Linked DNA regions of Homo sapiens: region 1 is linked to region 2. Evidence: promoter capture Hi-C in 16 types of primary human blood cells and fetal thymus (Javierre and others, 2016). All regions are on one chromosome and are shown on one strand. Each heading gives the region's core, a stretch centred on a gene start or on the middle of the fragment in contact. The rest is flanking DNA. Distances are from core to core; before and after follow the strand shown.

What was found. Contacts are between HindIII fragments. The CHiCAGO score rates a contact against its expected background, and 5 or more counts as called.
Region 1: a fragment that was not itself captured here is called in contact with the fragment with the promoter of VCPKMT in region 2 in 5 of 17 cell types (fetal thymus, total CD8 T cells, total CD4 T cells and 2 more); the score reaches 7.5 in fetal thymus.

Annotation. Positions count from the first base shown.
Region 1 is chr14:49,600,357-49,604,774 of GRCh38, forward strand. It overlaps LRR1 (leucine rich repeat protein 1), which reads left to right. Exons shown (of 4, transcript NM_152329.4): 2 at 2,014-2,112. It also overlaps the pseudogene RHOQP1. Among named protein-coding and RNA genes, the nearest start is that of LRR1, 3.6 kb to the left of the region's middle. The HindIII fragment of the contact is 1,015 bases long and covers 849-1,863 here.
Region 2 is chr14:50,114,758-50,118,833 of GRCh38, forward strand. VCPKMT (valosin containing protein lysine methyltransferase) reads right to left here and starts at 1,815. Exons shown (of 6, transcript NM_024558.3): 1 at 1,530-1,815; 2 at 1,312-1,422; 3 at 1,082-1,154. The coding sequence starts at 1,795. SOS2 (SOS Ras/Rho guanine nucleotide exchange factor 2) reads right to left here. Exons shown (of 23, transcript NM_006939.4): 23 at 2,373-4,076. The coding sequence ends at 3,587. RefSeq lists an enhancer at 1,752-1,811. The HindIII fragment of the contact is 15,614 bases long and covers 1-2,554 here.

The DNA of each region.
Region 1 (4,418 bases), core at 106-2,605, 510 kb before region 2:
CAGATTGATCTCCGAGATGACCCCAAAACTTTAGCAAGACTGAGTGATATGAAAGAAAAACCTATATGTGTGGAACAAGGACAGAAACTAGCAAAAGAGATAGGAGCATGCTGCTATGTGGAATGTTCAGCTTTAACCCAGAAGGGATTGAAGACTGTTTTTGATGAGGCTATCATAGCCATTTTAACTCCAAAGAAACACACTGTAAAAAAAAAAGAATAGGATCAAGATGTATAAACTGTTGTTTAATTACGTGAGAAACATCTTCAGTGGCCAAGGAAACTGTCCATTTCTCTCAGAAAGCAAATGAAATGCTGCAGCTATACCCAGACCTTTTATAGGTAATGAAGCAGTTCAAAACTTGAAAGAAAACAAAACCTGTCCTCAGAATTCTGTAAAGTTTATTAAGAATGTTCCTTAAAGATTTAAGAAGCAGTAAGCAGCATCTGAAGCCACAATCTATTATAAATACTTTATTTCAACTAGAAGGTACAATCTCTCAGGGGTTTCATAGTTTAAAAAGCTACAATCACATCATGTTGTAACTACATAAAAAACAGAGCTGTAGATGGAACTGCTTGGCTTTGACCATACACATTTCTGCACAGCCCTTACAGAATCTGCACAAAGAAATATCTCCCTTTTCTCCAGTTAATTGTTCTTGTATGTAAGTTGCTTTCTATTCCAGCATACCCAGAGTGGTGAAATAACAAGGCCAGCCACGTAGCCAAAGGTCGCTCCAAGCGTACAGGAGATGGGCCATACCTGAGGAGAGAATGTATGAGATCAAAAAAGAACAAATGTTTTATTACTTGAGCACAAGTGTAACCTAAATATTTCTATATTAAAGCTTAATGTGCTTTCTTAAAAAAAATCAGGTCACAGCATCCTGCACTTGCCTTGTCTTGATATTTGTTATGCTTATAAGTACTTGTTTAATAACTATCTCTCATCAGATTGTCAACTCTTTAAGTGTAGTTACCCTGTCAGTCTTATTCATTGCTATGTCCCAAGCCCCTATTAGAGTACCTGGTACATAGTGGGTTCTGAATCAATAGTTGTTGAAATCTAAAGCAGATGCAACAGCAATCATTAATTTTTTTTAAATTTTAAATATGCCATTTATATAGATGATAATCATTAAATTTTTTTTGAGCACTCATTATGTGTCAGTCATCGTTCTAGCACTCAGGATAGAATAGCAAAGGAGACAAGATTCCTGCTCTCATGGAGTTTGTATATAACCTACTGGGAGGTGTGCCCACCCCAGGCTAATGGACTGAAGTTATGAAGGCAAGTAACTGCTATTGGCAACTCTTCCTACAGTTACATAGTTGGAATGGGAGAAAAGGAGCATTCTCTCAAAACATGGTGATCCTGTTCTCAAAGGAGAGTTACTGGACAGACAGAGCAGTAACATCCACCACCAGCTAGATGAGGAGTATAACTTCCCAACTGCTAAAAAAAAAAAAAAAAAAAAAAACTTTAAAACTTGGCCACGCGCCGTGGCTCATGCCTGTAATCCCAGCACTTTGGTAGGCCCAGGCAGGCAGATCACTTGAGGCCAGGAGTTCTAGACCAGCTTGGCCAACATGATGAAACCGTGTTTCTACTAAAAATACAAAAATTAGCCGGGCATGGTGGCACGCACCTGTAATCCGAGCTACTCAGGAGGCTGAGTCATGGGAATTGCTTGAACCTGGGAAGTGGAGGTTGCAGTGATGGCACCACTTCACTCCATCCTGGGTGAGAGTGAGTGAGACTCTGTCTCAAAAAAAAACAACTTTTTTTTTTTTTTTTTTTTTTTTTTTGAGAAGGAGTCTCTTTCTGTTGCCCAGCCTGGAGTGCAGTGGCGTGATAAAAAGCTTTAAAACTTAAAATGAAAACACTCAGACTCAAGGACTAAAAGCCAAACCAAAGCCTGGCAAAGTAACTGGCACATTCTAGTTGTAATAAATGTTACTGAGTAACAATAATTAGTTTTCTTCTTTTTTTTCTATTGGTTTTATGCAGCTAAGGGAGAACATTGAGCAATTCTTCACCAAATTTGTAGATGAGGGGAAAGCCACTGTTCGGTTAAAGGAGCCTCCTGTGGATATCTGTCTAAGTAAGGTATGGTATTAAAAACATTAATGATTAATATTTGGCTGTATTTTCTTTATTTTTTAGAAACAGAGTCTTGTTCTGTCACCCAAGCTGAAGTACAGAGGCATAGTCATAGCTCACTGCATCAAACACCTAGGCTCAAGCGAGCCTCCTGAATATCTGGGACTAAAGGTGTACCTCACCACTCCCGGATAAATTTTTAAAATAACTTTTTGTAGAGACGGAGTCTTGATATGATGTTGCCCAGACTGGCCTTGAACTCCTGGCCTCAAGCGATCCTCTTGCCTCAGCCTCCCAAAGTGTTGGGATTATAAGCATGAGCCACCATACTTGGCCTGGCGTGTATTTGCTTGCTTGCTTGCTTTTTTTGTTTGTTTGTTTGTTTGTTTTGAGACGGAGTTTTGCTCTTGCTGCCCAGGCTGGAGTGTAGTGGCACGATCTCAGCTCACTGCAACCTCCATCTCCCGGGTTCAAACAATTCTCCTGCCTCAGCCTCCCGAGTAGCTGGGATTACAGACACCCACCACCATGCGTGGCTGATTTTTTTTTTTTTTTTATCTTTAGTAGAGACAGGGTTTCACCATGTTGACCAGGCTGGTCTTGAACTCCTGAACTCAGGCGATCCACCCACCTCAGCCTTCCAAAATGCTGGGATTACAGGCGTGAGCCACTGTGCTCAGCCTGGCCTGTATTTTCTTTAAAGAAGGCTGTTTGCACATTCTGCTATCCCATATAGCCGAATAGGGACAGACTCTTGCAGGTTTTTTGAAGAGGCAATGGCACAAGAGGCAGCTTCCCAAATATGCTTGTGTGCCTTCTAAAAGGGCAAAGTCTGCCTCAGTAAGATTCCCAGGATGGGAAGAAAACTGGGTTTGCTTCTGTGCTCAAGATGGAGCCCTAGGGTGTTCTTTGACTGGAACTCTATAAGGCAACTGCACAGGTCTACATTTTGCCAGCTAAACCACAGGTTACAAATCTAAGTTTGTTGTAATAAAAGAGGAAAAAATTCAATTAGAACCATCTTGTATTTTATTTACTGTAATCATTCTTTCTTCTTCTTCTTTTTTTTTTTTTTTTTTTTTTTTTGAGATGGAGTCTCATTCTGTCACCCAGGTTGGAGTGCAGTGGGAAGAGCTTGGTTCACTGCAACCCACAGGTGGGTGCCACCACTCCTGGCGAATTTTTGTCTACTGTGCCTGGCCCTTACTGTAATCATTCCTTTTTTTTTTTTTTTTTTTTTTTTTTTAATGAGACAGAGTCTCTCCCTGTCACCCAGGCTGGATTACAGTGGCGTGATCTCAGCTCACTGCAACCTCCACCTCCCGGGTTCAAGCGATTCTCCTGCCCCAGCCTCCCAGTAGCTGGGATTACAGGCACGTGCCGCCATGCCCAGCTAATTTTTTGTATCTTTAGTAGAGACGGGTTTCACCATGTTGGCCCGGCTGGTCTCAAACTCCTGACCTCGTGATCCGCCCACCTTGGCCGCCCAAAGTGCTGGGATTATAGGCATGAGCCACCGTGCCCGGACTGTAATCATTCTTATAAAAATATAAACTGAGGCTGGGTGCCATAGCTCACACCTGTAATCCCAGCACTTTGGAAGGCCAAGACTGGTGGATCACTTGCTCTCAGGAGTTCAAGACCAGCCTGGGCAACATGGTGAAACCCTGTCTCCACAAAAAAAAAAAAAAAAATTAGCCAGGCGTGGTTTTCACACCTGTGGTGCCAGCTACTTGGGAGCCTGAGGTGGGAGGATCACTTGAGCCTGGGAGGTGCAGGTTACAATGAGCCAAGATTGCACCACTGCACTCCAACCTGGGCGACAGAGCCAGACCCTGTCTCAAACAAAACAAAACAAAACAAAACAAAAATACCATAAACTGGCTGGGTGCAGTGGCTCACACCTGGGAGGCCGAGGCAGGAGGATCACTTAATCCCACAAGTTAGAACCTGGAGGCCAGACACGGTGGCTCACGCCTATGATCCCAGCACTTTGGGAGCCCTAGTTGGGCGGATTGCTTGAATCCAGGTGTTCAAGATCAGCCTGGGTGACATGGTGAAACCCCATCTCTACAAAAAAATTAGCCAGGCATAGTGGTGTGCACCTGTAATCTCAGCTACTTGGGAGGCTGAGGTGGAGGGTCACCTGAGCCTGGAAGGTCAAGGCTGCAGTGAACTGTGATTGCAGCCACTGCACTCCATCCTGGTTGATAGAGCAAGACCCTGTCTCAAAAAAAAGTTCAGGGCTTCGGTGAACTATGATTGTGCCACTGTACTCCAGCATGGGTGACAGAGCAAGACCCTTTCTCAAA
Region 2 (4,076 bases), core at 565-3,064:
AGGATTACTTGAGCCTCAGGAGCTCGAGGTTACAGTGAGCTATGATCACTCCACTGCACTACAACATGTGTGACAGAGCAAGACCCCTATCTTAAAACAAAAACAAACAAACAAAAACCCCTCTGTAACTAATGATTGGGTAAGCTCCTGTTAACTAAACCATGTACTGATTTTGGTTTCCAGAAAAAGGATTCAGATGACTGCATTTTGGAGTTCTCATGGGAAACAAATGGAATCAACCTTACTCTTAAAAGTTTAATTTTATTTAATCTAATTTGGGATTTAAATAATCAACGATTTCCCTACAAAAGTTAAATCTGACCCTAACTTGGTTCAATGCTAATTATTTTTAAAATAATCGATGCCCACAACACTATACAAACTGATGTTTTTTTTTTTTTTTTTTTTTTTTGAGACAGAGTTTTGCTCTTGTTGCCCAGGCTGGAATGCAATGGCATGATTTCGGCTCACTGCAACCTCCGCCTCCCAGGTTCAAGCGATTCTCCTGCCTCAGACTCCCAAATAGCTAGGATTACAGACATGCACCACCACGCCTGGCTAATTTTGTATTTTTAGTAGAGACAGGGTTTTGCCATGTAGGTCAGGCTGGTCTCGAACTCCCGACCTCAGGTGAGCCACCTGCCTTGACCTCCCAAGTGTTGGGATTACAGGCGTGAGCCACCGCGCCCGGCCCAAACTGGTATTTAAAGAAAAGAACAATGAATTATTTATAACTTAATTCTCAATGTCATGGTTAACATGTTCCGTGGGAACAACCAAGGGAAAAAGAGAGGATTTTGGCTTTTCATAACATCCAATTGGCAAAATCCTTTAAAATTTTTACAGAAGCCTCTAGTAAAATGCATATAACACTTTTCTCAACATGCTTCACCAGGTCGGTATGATAATGATGAGCGTATATACATATGGTCCCTGGTGACTTTTATCTTCTCTTTACTGCATCAACTATAAGGCAAATCCCGGATTCAAAGATGTTAAAATGTGAAGAAACGTGTGCTTTAGAATTCATGGAATAAGGTTCATCTTCTAAGTGAAGAGACTTCGCTCACTGGATACTTACCTCTTCATAGTATATGCAGTCGGCCATCAGTATGAAGTCGGGTGGAGAAGGAAAGCCTTCTATTTCTTCCCCCCTTAAAAATGCCAAACAAATATTTCAATTGTTTTAATAATTCAAAATACTCTTGTTTTATAAAGAACCGGAAAGTCCCCTTCCATCCTTTTAATGAAACGCAATTCAAAACAAACTACAAATCAATATCTTAAAACAAGCTGAAAGGCCATACAAACCATTTCAGTACCTTGGCTTGAACAGAACCAGTGACAAGATGCTTGTTCATATTAATATTCATCTTCAGCAAGTCTTGCAATTCCTCAAGATCGGTGACTACAACATCAGCCCTATAAAATAACGTCGACTGAGGTGTAGGCACAGGGGGGAAAGCCTGTAATCCGGATTTCCCCAGCAAGAAGGCGCCCCCACATCCCGCCCGCCCGCCAGCTCTTACCCGAGGGTAGCAGCCATGAGCCCCACGGCCCCGGTGCCCGAACCCAGCTCCAGCACCGACCGCCGGCTCAGCGCGTGGGCCCCGTCGCCAGAAAACTCGGGCGTTTCCAGGTATTTAGAAAGGACAATGGCAGCGTCCCACACAACGCAACCCACGCCACCGGAGCTATACTGCTGTAGTCGTAGCACTGTACCATCCCGCTTCTCCAAAACTCGCACAAAGCTCCGCAGTGGGTCCTCCAGCGAGGACTCCAGCGTATCCGCCATTGCGCCCGGCAACAGAAAGCGGCGCGCGCAGGGACGTCACATCAACGCGCACCGCCCCGCCCTGCGGCTCCGCCCCCTGCCCGCCGCTGAGTTGGCGACGCAGCGCGCGCGAGTTAACAAAGCCCGGAAGGCAGCGTTACCTGGGCGGGGCCGAGCGTGGGGCCCCTGCTTACCCGACGCGCTTGGCAGCCTCCCTCTACCCTAAATCACACGTTTGGCTTAACGAAGAGGCCGTTTAAATCACTTTCCCAGACAAAACTATTATAATCTGCTCTTTAAAAAACAAAGCCAACCTCAGAGTTTACCAAGTTGGACACTTGATTTACATAGTAGTTACAAGGCTTAAATGCAATCAGCTTCCAAGATCCTACCAAAGATGGCTATAATCTTACAATCTTCCTTTTCAAGTTCCTAGTATGCTCCTAGTTTTTTGTATGAATTCATAAAAGTGGTTGCTAGAAGCCTGCAGCTCACATTTAACAGTGAAGAAAAAATTGTGTGTGTGTGTGTGTGTGTCTATAGGACTCAACAATCTCCCCCTTTGTTCCTTATAATGAAAACACATATTTTAAAAGTCTTTTAAAAATTAAGACTGGGGTGATTTATTAATCTTGTTAAGAACTCTGATACAAAGCACAGTAAAAGGCCACAAACCAGTAAATAAACAACGTGGCTTTTGGCTACTTTACAACTGCTGCTACAGCACTATCAGCAAAACACTCTATCACTTTGAACGAAGGCATCCAAATGGCAAATAAAAGCTTTACTCACTTATCTGATTAAAATGTTTAATAAAGCTTTAAGTATTTGCTGGTTTAAATATTACCAATCTAAAAAATATATTTAAAAAAAATTTCAGTTAACACGAGATTTATAGAGAAAGTTACTAGGTCTTGAAGGCAAGGCAGTTGGTTCCTATGCCATAGAATTTTTTTTGAATTTATGAATTAGTAAAGTAGCAGATTGTATTATAGGCCTCAAGTCACTTAAATTTATATAGGTTATTAGCAGTATCTTTAAATATACAATATAAACAAAACTGTACATACATGGCATATTAACTGTTTTCCATAACAATAGGCAATTCATTAGCTAAAGACGTCATAGTCTGCAAAAACAAAAGGCACATCTGAATGAGATACATGCCCTTTTTCCCTCCATCATTGGGTTATGTAGTCTTTGTTTACATTTTGACAAAATAATAAACACTTACAGTGCCATTCTATTATTTTCATCCTACTTTTCATTTTTGTCTTCAGCAGCAAATACCGGCATTTAAGACATGGCATTAAAGAGTTTAAGAACAGTTGGTGTTATTCACAATTCTCCTAGATGTAAAAACTAGAAGTAAAAACTAGAAGATGGTCAAAGAGGTTTAAAAATCAGTAACACCATATACCCCTCCCATATTTGTGTAAATTCACTGCCTTAAAAAGGCATCTATTACTCAAATTTGAAAAATTTCACAAAAGCACTATCCCTTTTCAGTGCAATCATGTCACTTTAAACCATATTTTTGCAGAGTTTACAGTGCAAATATAAATTCTTTATACTGGCCTTTTGGCAGCACTGAGGATCCAAGACAAGGCAATGCTACTGATCACCTGAGGATAATGGTGAAGGACTTTTGTATTTTTATTTTTCCAATTCTTAAAAGCTTATTTGATCAGTAGCATTTTTGTAAGAGCATTATTTGTAAAAAGTACTAAAATACTATGTCTTTTTTTGAATAAATTAAAAAAAAAACTTTACAAATACCATTCCAGTGTCAATGACTACATATGGCTAAGGTCATTGGGGAGTTTCTGCATTTTCTAGCAAAGGCAGTCTGTACAATGGGGGGTGCGAAAGCTCCCGTTTGTAAGTCTTTGGTGGCAGTTTTGGCAGATGAGGGCTTGAATTCTGCCTTGGTGGAACAGGGGGAGCTGGAGGATGAGCAAGATTATTCTGACTAGAACTGAGCACATAGCATCGACGCGGTACCCTTGGAGAGGGTGTGCTAGGAGGAGTGCTTGGCGAATTTGGACACGTACTAATGTCTCTGAGCCAGTCTGAATCTCTGTGAAGATGCCCCAGTGGAGGTGGCTGAAGATTAAATGGACAGTTTATAAAGTGTTCTGGAGGCCGAAGGGGAACTGGTGGAGGGGTATCAGGAAGAGGATCTCTTGGTGGTGGCGGAGGTGGACTATGCAGAGGCCCATCAAATGCACCAGTAGGAACAGGAACTCTGGGTTTTACCTTTGGAGGAGGAGGCTGTCTCGGTGGAATAGCAGGAGGATCA